2 separate regions of the Homo sapiens genome follow, and region 2 is linked to region 1. The links are contacts of gene promoters, found by promoter capture Hi-C in blood cells and fetal thymus (Javierre and others, 2016). All regions are on one chromosome and are shown on one strand. The core of a region is centred on a gene start or on the middle of the fragment in contact, and the rest is flanking DNA. Distances in the headings are between cores, read along the strand shown. Region 1 holds the start of IRF4 (interferon regulatory factor 4). Region 2 has its middle 32 kb from the start of DUSP22.

The links. The method cuts DNA at HindIII sites, captures the fragments that hold promoters and counts their contacts. A CHiCAGO score of 5 or more calls a contact.
Region 2: a fragment that was not itself captured here is called in contact with the fragment with the promoter of IRF4 in region 1 in 2 of 17 cell types (total B cells and naive B cells); the score reaches 6.8 in total B cells.

The regions. Positions count from the first base shown.
Region 1 is chr6:388,856-394,525 of GRCh38, reverse strand. It overlaps IRF4 (interferon regulatory factor 4), which reads right to left and starts at 2,774. Exons shown (of 9, transcript NM_002460.4): 1 at 2,717-2,774; 2 at 1,158-1,428. The coding sequence starts at 1,373. RefSeq lists enhancers at 358-407, 448-557, 4,755-4,804 and silencers at 1,618-1,727, 1,838-1,887, 2,058-2,107, 2,388-2,457, 2,698-3,087 and 3 more. The HindIII fragment of the contact is 5,232 bases long and covers 1-3,390 here.
Region 2 is chr6:257,598-263,267 of GRCh38, reverse strand. No RefSeq gene overlaps it. Among named protein-coding and RNA genes, the nearest start is that of DUSP22, 32 kb to the left of the region's middle. The HindIII fragment of the contact is 2,512 bases long and covers 1,088-3,599 here.

The DNA.
Region 1 (5,670 bases), core at 1,525-4,024:
AAAGTGCTGGGATTACAGGTGTGAGCCACCATGCTAAACCCAAAATACAGATATTTTATAAGGAATCTTGAAATTGTATTTCTAAAAGAAAGAATGGCGCATAGGTCCTTCAGATTTACACCGTTGCTCAGAACGTAAACTGAAAGACCCCAGCTATGCTCTAGGAAAATGATTTTCCATCTTGGACCCTATCACTGCCAAGTTGAAGACACATTTTCTGGGTATTTATAACCGGTAGAGTGAGATGCGGAGGTTCCTTGAGGGGGCTCTACCCACCCAGTGTCTGAGTGAGCTTGCCTAGGACTAAGGACAGCTGTGGTGTGAGCTGTCACCCACAGGAGACATCTGGATGGCAGCACAGCTGAGGCACTCTGAGAGCAAATTGAGACCAAATTCCCGGAGGAAGTCCCCTTCCCCTGCTCTGCCCACAGGTGGGGGCTGGGCCCAGACACGTAGTTCTCTGGGTAAACTGCCTTAGGGGAGAACAATCGTAACAACGACACACGTGTGTGCACTCGCGCAAAGGGCAAGGGAGACAGCTCTAGACAGAGGCCCTGAGTTCCACTGCGATGGGGGAAAGAGAGAGACAGAGACACACAAAGAGAAAGACAGAGGTGGGAGTACCCGCAGAGAGCTAGCAGGAGCGAGAAGAGAGGCTGACCTCAGGAAAAACATGGAGAGAGAGAGACTCAGAGAGAAAAGCAGCGAAAAGAGAAACAGAGACGCGGTGAGAGACGAAAACAGCCGCCGGCACAGGCGCGGACGCACGGAGAGGGCGAGGGGGACCCACGGACGGAGGCGGCAGACGGGAGCCCGGAGGAAGGGCGGGAGGCTTGCGTGGAAACGAGAACGCACGGACGAACGCGCAAAACCCCTCAAGCCTTTGGCCGCCCTTCCCCGGGCCCGGCCGGGCCTTCAGCGGTTTCCCTGCAGCCTCCACGCGCCCAGGACCCGGCTCCCGGCCCCCGCGGTCCCGCTGAGAGCCGAGGCCTCCTTTCCTCCTCCTGCGGCTCCGGCGACGCCACCTGATGCCTCCGCCGCCCGCCCGTCCGCCCCGCGCGGTCCCCTGGGCTCGCCTCGGAGGCGGCGCCGGGGACCCCGGGCTCTGTCTCTGGGCCCTCCCCGGCGCGCCCCCGCCGGCTCCCGAGGCCGGAGACCTTGAAGAGCGCGGCGTCCTCCTCGCGGTTGTAGTCCTGCTTGCCCGCGTGCTTCCAGGGGATGCGGAAGATGCTCTTCTCCTCGTTCTCCCACACCAGCCCGGGGTACTTGCCGCTGTCGATCTGGTCGATCAGCCACTGGCGGAGCTTCCCGTTGCCGCAGCTCACCGCGCTCATGCCGAACTCTCCGCCTCGGCCGCCGCCCTCCAGGTTCATGCCCCGCGTGCCGTCCGCGCCCGCGCCCGGGGTCCTCCGCCCGCTCTGCTCTGCACTGCGGGGAGAAGAGCTGCCCTTCAGCCACGAGGCACCGCACTCCGGGCACCCCGCCCCGATCCCCTGCGCCAGTGACCACGAGGCCCCGGAGTCTTTGAGGCTGCGAAGCGCGCGCGTGCCGTGTCAGGGTCGTCCGGGCCCCCGGAAGAAGGCACCTTCGCGGCCGGCCCGGGCGCATCCCCTGGGCGGGCACAGCCGTCCGCCTTCCGAGCTCGGCCCCCGCGAAGGCTCCTACCCGCCTGCTCTCCTGTAACGCACCCGCAGCCCAAAGGCTCCCGACACGCGCCGCTCGTCTTGCACCCTCTCTCCCCACCCAGCCGCCACCCCTCCTGGCCCTCCTTCCGCACTCACTCGCAGCTCTCGCTTGCCTTCGCTCACTCCCAACCCGCTTCTCGCCCCTTCCCCGCGACTCTGTCAGTTTCCACTCCCCTGGCGGCCTCCACGCGCGGAGGACCTCGCCTGCGGCCGGGCGTTCCAGGGGCGCAGCCCCGGGTTCCTCCACCCTCCGCTTTCTCTGCTCGCATCCAGACCCTTCGCCCCGAATAGGACCCCTATCCCTGCCCAGCTAGCGCGCACTAAGTGGGCTCTGCAAACGACAAGTGGCGCAGACGCGGGGGCTGCAGCCCCAGTACGGGGGATTCCGCGCGCAGAGCGTCCGCCGGACCCCGGAGCAGGCCCGGGAGAGCGGAGGCGGGGAGGGCGCGGGAGAGGGCGACGACAGCTGCGGAGCCTGGGAGGCAGGGACCGCGCCAGGCCGGCTAGGCCACCGCACGCAAGGCTCGGAGCGACCCAAATGTGGAGCTCCTCCTCCTCCTGCGCCAGCGGGTGAGCACCGCGCCGGAGGCCGCCGTGAGCTTGGGCCCCTTAGGAACGAAGAGCAGGGGAAGGAGCCTCGGATTGGGGTCCACAGGGCCGGGCCTGTTTCTCGCAGGCAGTTGTGCCGTCTTGTGTGGGTGCCTTGGACGGCCCCGCCTCAGCCACTCCTGGGGCCCCGACAGTCCGGTTAGCTCATCCCGTCCAGCTTGTGGCGACCCCGTCGCAGGAGCGCGGAGGGCAGGCGGGGAGGCTCGGGCAGAGCCAAGGAGGCGGGCCTTGGAGCCCAAACCAGCGCCTCCGGCTCAGCGCAGATGGGGTGGGAGTCGGAGCTCCAGGACGGGGCGCGCTCCCTTCCCGCTCCGAAGCCGGGGTACCCTGCGCTGCCCTGGAGGTCGAACCTCTGGTTCGCGCTCCGGGTCCTCTCTGGTATCAGCCTCACACCCCTCCTCCTGCCCGACTCCAGCCCTTACCTCGCCCTGGACTCGGAGCTGAGGGCAGCGGTGGGTCCCAAGATCGAGCGGTGAAACTGAGAGTGCGAGGTGGGAAAGAGGAACTTTATAGAACTCTCTGGGGCGGGGCCTGGGGCGGGGCGGGGCGCCGAGGCCTGTGGGGGCCGGGGGTTGGACTGGGGAGAGGGACTTTGCAAGCCGAGAGCCGGGGCCGGCCGGGCGGGCGAGCCTCAGGGCCGGCGTGAAGGCTGGGGGCTGCCGCGGCCGGGGTGGGGTTCCCGCGCCCTTGGCGACCCTCCGCGCGCCGCGCCCGGAGAGCGCACCTCCAGCCGGGCGCGCGCCGCTTCGGGGACTGTCACTGGGGCCGTTTCCCGCGAAGGGCGAGGTGCGAAATGCGAATCTCGCCTTTGCGCCAGGACCTCAGGAGGCCAGTCAATCACTAAACTGCAGCGATGTGGCCAGGGCGGGAAATGGGGGGCGTGTAGTAGCGGGAATCTGGTGCGAAGGGGACTTCGCTTTGCAGAGCGTGTAACGGAAGACGGAGGAATGGTCCAAAGAGAACTGGAGGTGGAGGTTGCGGGAGCACCCTCGGCAAGGCCATCACCGGGAACCCTGCCTCTCCGCGGTGTTTAGAGAACATCGCACTCACTAAAAAGAAAATAGGAAATGGCCCAGCTCCCTTGAGCTATTAAGCTTGATTCAAATACTGTCTCTGCGTGTCTGACATGCTTACATCCTTTTGCATCTATTAGGCTGGTGAATTGAAGTGACTCAGACAATGCCCCGGCCCCGAAGTTTTAATTATCTTAGCATGAAAGAGATGGGGGCGGGGAGAGGCTCCCTAAGGATCCAAGTGCTTAATCACTTCCAGACTTCAGTTCACCTTAAAATGATGTCGTTTTAACCTCAACCTGGAGGAAAGCAGTTTACCAGTGGGGTATAAAAGCCCAAAATAGGCCAGGCGCTGTGGCTCAAGCCTGTAATCCCAGCACTTTGGGAGGCCGAGGCGGTGGATCGCCTGAGGTCAGGAGTTCGAGACCAGCCTGGCCAACACGGTGAAACCCCATCTCTACTAAAAATACAAAAATTAGCCGGGCGTGGCCCCAGCTACTTGAGAGGACGAGCCACGAGAATCGCTTGAACCCGGGAGGCTGAAGTTGCAGTGAGCCGAGGTGGGCGACAGAGCAAGACTCCATCTCAAAATAAATAAATAAAAGCCCAAAATAGGAATAATACTTAAGTGGACCAGGGATTTTACATACTTTTCCAAGATGTCCTTAATCGCAAAATTAACCCCCTGAGCTTTCACCCGTTGAGCTTTCGATCGTCTGAGATGCTGAGTATGTGCATTTACTTCGCATTTTCAGGTAAACCATCAGATCTCTGGTTTCTATATGATTTTAGACCACCACCACCGTAGGTCAACCTGCAACTTTTGAAAAGCTTTTGATTTCACTTATTTCTCAGTTTTTGTTTTAATCTTATATATTGGGTCAATGTCTCCTAACCAAAGAAGAATCTATGTTTAGGCTAGAGCAAAACAGGTAGTGAGGTATGGATAGGTATGCTTTTCCTAAAACCAACAGACGTTCTCAGAAATTAACAGGATGCCATTTTTTATTTCACCCAAGTAAGTTTTCCATTACCAAAGTCTATGTAATAAACAACAGGGTTTTGTTCACAAAAAGTTCTGGTCACAACCTGTTTTTCTTCCTTTCCTTTCACAGATTTATTCACTTGACAAATGTATTTTGAGCACCTGCTACTTGTCAGGAACCGTCCTAGGCACTTGGAACACATCAGTGAACAAAGCAAAGATCGTTGCCTTCTTGTTGCATTATATTTTAATCAGTGTTACCTTTCCCTCAAACGTTCACAAACATACCAGAGAGGAGTTTGCTGAGGACAAAAAATGGCAAATGAGAGCTTTTTGCACTTTCGTATACGTGTCCTCTGCACCGGGTTTAGTCATTTTCAACATACCCTCCCCTCACTCATCCACATCCTCTGCTTTTAGTTCAGAACAACAGTCGTTGTGTGAAACTCTGAGCCTTCACACCACTACCTTGTTTTTAAATGTAATTGCTAATCTTCAACGCCATCTTCTGGTTTACTCATTTGCCATATTGATCCACTAGAAGTTATTTTTCTTAATGATGATGTGAATACAAGTAATAAAACATTTTAATCACTAAAACTCCGGATGGCCTCATTACCCGTCAGGGAGGCAGTGAACAGGTAGCAGCTGGCAGTGGTGACCAAGGACTTTTATATCTTAGTCACGATTGAAACAAAAAACGGCAAAGGTTCTCAAATTGAAAAGCTTCCCCACCAAACTCCCACCCCCTCCACACACTGAGACTTGAGAAAATCGGTATTCCTTAGTAAAAGGCTGGATATTTATCAGTAAATGACACAACTTGTTGACAAGCAGAAACTAATAGGAAACCAGTTCATTGAATGTGTACCCAAAACAAAGGCTGACCGTGATATTCCACGAGGAAGTTACTTATTTAGTGAATTATCCGTATGTTGAGGTTGTAGTCGGCACACCATCTGAATGGAGCATTTCCATTTTCAATTTCACATTTATCGTAAAGAGTCTGCAAGAAAAGCTGAATTTACCTCAATTCAGTATTTTAAAAGCCAATCTTTAAAATTATACATTCACATGCAAGTAAAATATTTCAGAAAAACCCATCCTACACACACAAACACACACACTAGATTCTTAAAATCTTGGATAACACTATTTTCCCACTAATTCACTCTTTAAAGGGGGGGGCTACAATTGGCTAAAAACAATGCAACTGTATCCATAAAGAAATATAAAGGGCAATCATTTTTAATTACCAGAAAAAATCAGGAAAATACTGAAAGTGCTATTTTCATGTAATTTATATAGAATATATGTCTCTTCTAATCCTCTTTGGTTATATGTGTTTGCAAATCTAATTACTGGCCATGACACATTG
Region 2 (5,670 bases), core at 1,094-3,593, 130 kb after region 1:
GGGAACTCATATTATAAGGACATCATAACCCAGATGTCAAACTAGAAAAAGACATCAGAAGAAAAGTATAGACCAATATCCCATATGAATAGAGATGCAAAAACTTCAACAAAATACTAGCAAACCAAATCAAATGACACATTAAAATAATTATACACCATGACTCAGTAGGATTTACCCCAGGATGCAAAGGTGGCTCAAAATTTTGAAATAATCAATGTAACAGATCAATTAAATTAATATAACAAGGGGAAAAGATGCATGCTCATCTCAATTGATGCAGAAAAGGCATTTTCAACCCCCTTTCATGATTTTTTTAAACCCAGAAAACTAGGAAATAGAAAGGAACTGCCTAAATATGATAAAGAGCAATTATAAAAAACCCACAGCTAACAGCATACTCAATAGTGAAGCTTTCTCCTTTAAGATTTTTTAGATTTCCTCCTAACAAGACAAGGATGCCCACTTTCATTCCTTCTATTCAACATTATAAGTTCTAGCCACAAAAATTAAACAAGAAAAAGAAAGGACAGGCATTCAAATGAAAAAGGAAAAAGTAGTACTATCTCTATTTGTGAGGACATGATCCTATATATAGAAAATTCTAGAGTCGACAGGAATACAAATCCAGCAAAATCACAGGCTACAAGATTAACACAAAAAACTCAGTTGTGTTCCTATATACCAGCAATAAACAATCAAAAAAGAAAATTAAAGCAATTCCATTTATAACAACTTCTAAAAGAATAAACACCTAGAGATAAATGTAACTAAGTGGGTGAAAGAATTGTACAGTGAAAACTACAAAACTTTGCTGTAGGAAATTAAAGAAAGAAATTAAAGAAATAAATGGAAAGACATTTTGTGTTCACAGATTAGAAGACTTAATACTGTTAAGCTGTTAATAGTACCTGAAGCAATACATAGATTCAATAAAATCGCTTTCACAATTCCAGCAGCCTTTGCTGCAGAAATGAAAAAGTCAATCCTCAAATTCATAGGCAATTGCAAGGGCCCTGGAATAGTCAAAACAATCTTTAAAAAGAAAAACAAATTTGGAGGAGTCACACTTCCTAATTTCAAAGCTTACAAAGTTACAAAAAGCAAAACAATGTGGTACTGGCCTAGATATAAACATATAAACCAATGTAATAGAATGAGAGTCCAGAAATAAACCCATACATCTATGGCCAATTTATTTTATTTTATTTTATTTTATTTTATTTTATTTTATTTTATTATTTTATTTATTTTTGAGATGGAGTCTTGCTCTGTCACCCAGGCTGGAGTGCAGTGGCATGATCTCAGCTCACTGCAAGCTCCACCTCCCGGGTTCACACCATTCTCCTGCCTCAGCCTCCCAAGTAGCTGAGACTACAGGCGCCCACCACCACACTTGGCTAATTTTTTTGTATTTTTAGTAGAGACAGGGTTTCACCATGTTAGCCAGGATGGTCTCAATCTCCTGACCTCATGATCTGCCCACTTCAGCCTCCCAAAGTGCTGGGATTACAGGCATGAGCCACCGTGCCCAGTATGGCCAATTTATTTTTGACATAGATGCCAAGTTCATTCAAGGGAGGAAGTAATAGTCTTTTCCACAAACAGTGCAAAGACAATTGGATTTCAATATGCAAGAGAATGAAGTTGGACCCTTACCTCACATCATATATAAAAGTTAACTCATGGATCAATGATCGTAAAATCTTTGAATACACAGAAGATTTTTTTAGGGCAGTGAAAAGATTCTGTATAATACTGCAATGATGGATACATTTGTTTAAACCTGTAGAATATACAACACAAAGTGTGAATTCTAAGGTAAACTACGAACTTTGGGTGATTATGGTGTGTCAAGGTAGGTTCATTAATTGTATGCACCACTCTCATGAGATATTTTGATAGTGGGGGAGGCTGTGCATACGTAGGATAAAAGGCACATGGGAAATTTTTGTATCTTCCACCTAATTTTGCTGTGAACCTAAAACTCCTCTAAAATAATAAAGTCTTAAAACAAAACTCTTAGAAGACAACATAGGAATAAGCTGTTATAATCTTGAGTTCAGTAGTAGATTTTCAGGACACCAAAAGCACAAGAAACAAAAGAAAGAGTAGATAAATTTGACTTCATCAAAATATTTGTATATCAAAGGACATTATCAAGACAGTAAAAGACAACTACAGAATGGGAGAAAATATTTGCAAATCATATATCTGGAATGGGATTAATATCCAGAATATATAAATAACTCCCGGAACTCAACAACAAAAATACAAAACATATAACCCAATACATAAGAAGGAGAAAGGACCTGAATAGACATTTCTCCAAAGAAGATTTGCAAATAATTGGTCATTAATCTCAACATTATTAATCATTATAAAAATGCCAATCAAAACCACAATGAGACACCACTTTACAGCTACTAAGATGACTATAATTTTAAAAACACAAAATAAATGTTTACAAGGATGTAGAGAAATTGAAACCTTTGTACATTGATAGCAGGCATTTAAAATGGTGCAGTCATTGTGGAAAACAGTTTGGTGTGGTTCCTTCAAAAGTCAAGTGTAAAATTGCCACATGACCCAGCAATTCCATTCTTACATATATAACCAAAGAATTGGAAGTGGGGACTCAGCTACTTGTATGATAATGTTTATTGCAGATTGATTCTCAACAGCCAAAAGATGGAAACACCCCATATCCATCAGTATATGAACGGATAAACAAAATGTGGTATATGCATACAATGCAATATCATTTAGCCTTGAAAAGGAATAAAATTCTGATACATGCTACATATGGATGAACCTTGAAGACATTATGCTAAGTGAAATAAACTAGTCATAAAAAGACAAATACTGTACAGTTCCACTTATATGAGGTACCTGTGTCAGGCAAATTCACAGACAGAAAGCAGAATGGTCGTTGTTAGGGGCAAGAATGTGGAGGGAAGGAGGAGTTATTGTTTATTAGTTAGAGTTTCAGTTCAGAAAGATGAAAAAAGTCCTGGCAATGGAGAGTGGTGATGGTTGCACTACAATGTGAATGCGATTAATGCCACTGAACTGTACACTTAAAAATTGTTAAAATGGTATATTTTATGTTACGTATCTTTTACCACAATAAAAATTTATCTAAACTTTCATTTTTGCTTTTTAGCTACCTGGTTAAAACGAAACAAAGATGTAAGTTTGGGGTTTATTTTTGACCATTAAAGAGCACTCAGTTTGTGGTTGTAATATGCTTCCTGCAATATAGTAAGCCTTAAAACGAAAGTGTCTCTTGCACAGCCTAGATGGTCAATAAATCCATTGTGTAAATTTTGTTGGTGTTTGTGATTTGTCACCTATGCCTTCTTATAATAATTGTCCCTTGAGGAACTGTCTCAATGAGAATCCTCAAAGTAACTGTAATGTGCCTTATAAATATGTTGATTTATGCAGGGGTGTCCAATCTTTTGGCTTCCCTAGACCACATTGGAAGAAGAATTGTCTTGGGGCACACATGAAATACACTAACTATAGTTGATGAGCTAAAAAAAATTGCCAATAAATTAAAAAATCTCATAATGTTTTAAGAAAGTTTACAAGCTTGTGTTGGGCCGCATTCAAAGCCATCCTGGACTGCGTGTGGCCCATGGGCCATGGGTTGGACAAGCTTGATTTATGTGGAAGCACATAAAAGGCAAATGCACACATACGTGAAATTCTCTCCAAAGATTAATTACTTGGTCACCGCAGTTTCTTTCCACCAGAATGTAAATTCTATTTTGTTTAGTGCTGCATGCCTAGCTACTACAATAGCATATAGTAAGTGCTCAATAAATAACCGTTGAAAGAATTCTAACACTAATTTGAAAGAAATCCTCTGTCTTCAGCTTCTTAGCTTGTAATTTTGATGTTAGGGACAAGCAACATGGAAAGACTCCCAAAACAAAAGAGGCACCAGTGTCAGCAGCAGGGAAAGGGAAGAGGGGAGGAGGAAGCGATTGCGTGCCCCCATGCCCACAGAGGGGTACTGGGTCCCCAGTCCTGTTCATCTTTGCTGGTGCCTATCCTGGTCTGAGGTTGGAGCTCAGCTCATTGCCTCTGTTGGTGGGACCATGCTGGCAGTACTGGGAACAGAGTGTTTATTGAAGAAGTGAGATACAGTGGCTTTCACAAGAGTTTTCAAATGATCATTTAAAACTTCATCACAGCCCTATTCACAATAGCAAAGACATAGAATCAACCTAGGTGTCCATCAACTGTGGAGCAGATTAAAAAAATGTGGTACATATACTTCATGGAATATTATGCAGCCATAAAAAAGAATGAGCTTGGCCAGGTGCAATGGTTCACACCTGTAATCCCAGCACTTTGGGAGGCCAAGGCGGAAGGACCACTTGGAGCCAAGAGCTTGAGACCAGTCTGGACAACATAGCAAGACCCTGTCACTACAAAAGTAAAAAATAAAAACTCAGGCAAGTGTGGTGGCATGCACCTGTAGTCTTAGCTACTCAAGAGGCTGAAGCAGGAGAGTTGCTTGAGTCCAGGAGGTCAAGGCTGCAGTGAGTGACAGAGCACAATCTTACCTCTATCAAAAAAAAAAAAAAATGTCCTTTGCAGCTGGAGGTCATTATCCTAAGTGAATTAATTAACACAGGAATAGAAAACCAAACACTGCATGTTCTCACTTATAAGTGGGAGCTAAGCACTGGGCATTGGGTACACATGGACATAAAGATGGAAACACTAGACACTGAGGACTACTAGAGGCAGGAGAGAGAGATGGGGACAAGGCTGAAAAACTAAGTTGGGTGCTATGCTTACTACTTGTGTGACGAGATCATTCACGCCCCCAAGCCTTAGCATCATGCAATAAACCCATGCAACAAACATGCACATGTACATCTTGAATCTAAAATACTAGTTGAAATTATAAAATCAAATAAAACTTTTTCTGGGCTTTCAAATTTTGATGCCCTATGGGCAAAGCTACACTCAGCAAAGCCTAGTGTGCACAACAGCATTTGCAGTGACCCACTGGAGTGACCAACCAAAGGGAGACCTATTCTCTTGTCCCCACCTGCTCCTGCCTCTGCCAAGGAAAAGGAAATGCCCGACCTTTCAGACATTGGAAATAACTTTTTTCTTCTCCTTACCCCTTTCTAACTCTTCAGTATAGATGACTAATTCTGCTGCTCATTAAGGGTTGGGGTCACTGTGTAAAGGTTCACCACTCCCCTCTCCTTGGTGTGCTTTCTGTCTCTCTCATCATTTTTTAGAACAGCCTGGTCACAGGATGCACCTGCCCTCCTCTCCTCCATGGGGTGAGCCCAAGGAGCCAGGTGCAGCCCTTGTGGGGAGAGGCCCACAGCTGTCCTGCCTGTGGGTGGGTGGGCCTGGTTAAGTTCAGTGGAAAACCATTCAGACCTTGGGTCCAAGTGGAGGTTTTTTAACCCAGCCTTACCAGAAATAAAGCCAATACACTGACTTATATCTGCTTTCTGTACCTGGTCTTAAAGCTGTAACTGGCAGAGGTGTGGTAAATTTACCTTCTCAAACCCCAACAACAATGGGTTTGATTTTCCTTAGGCACAAAAGACATTTAAAAGTGAGCAAATAAAGATTAGCCAATTCCCTTACATAATAGTTCTGCAGGGCTTTGGCAAGGCTGAAATC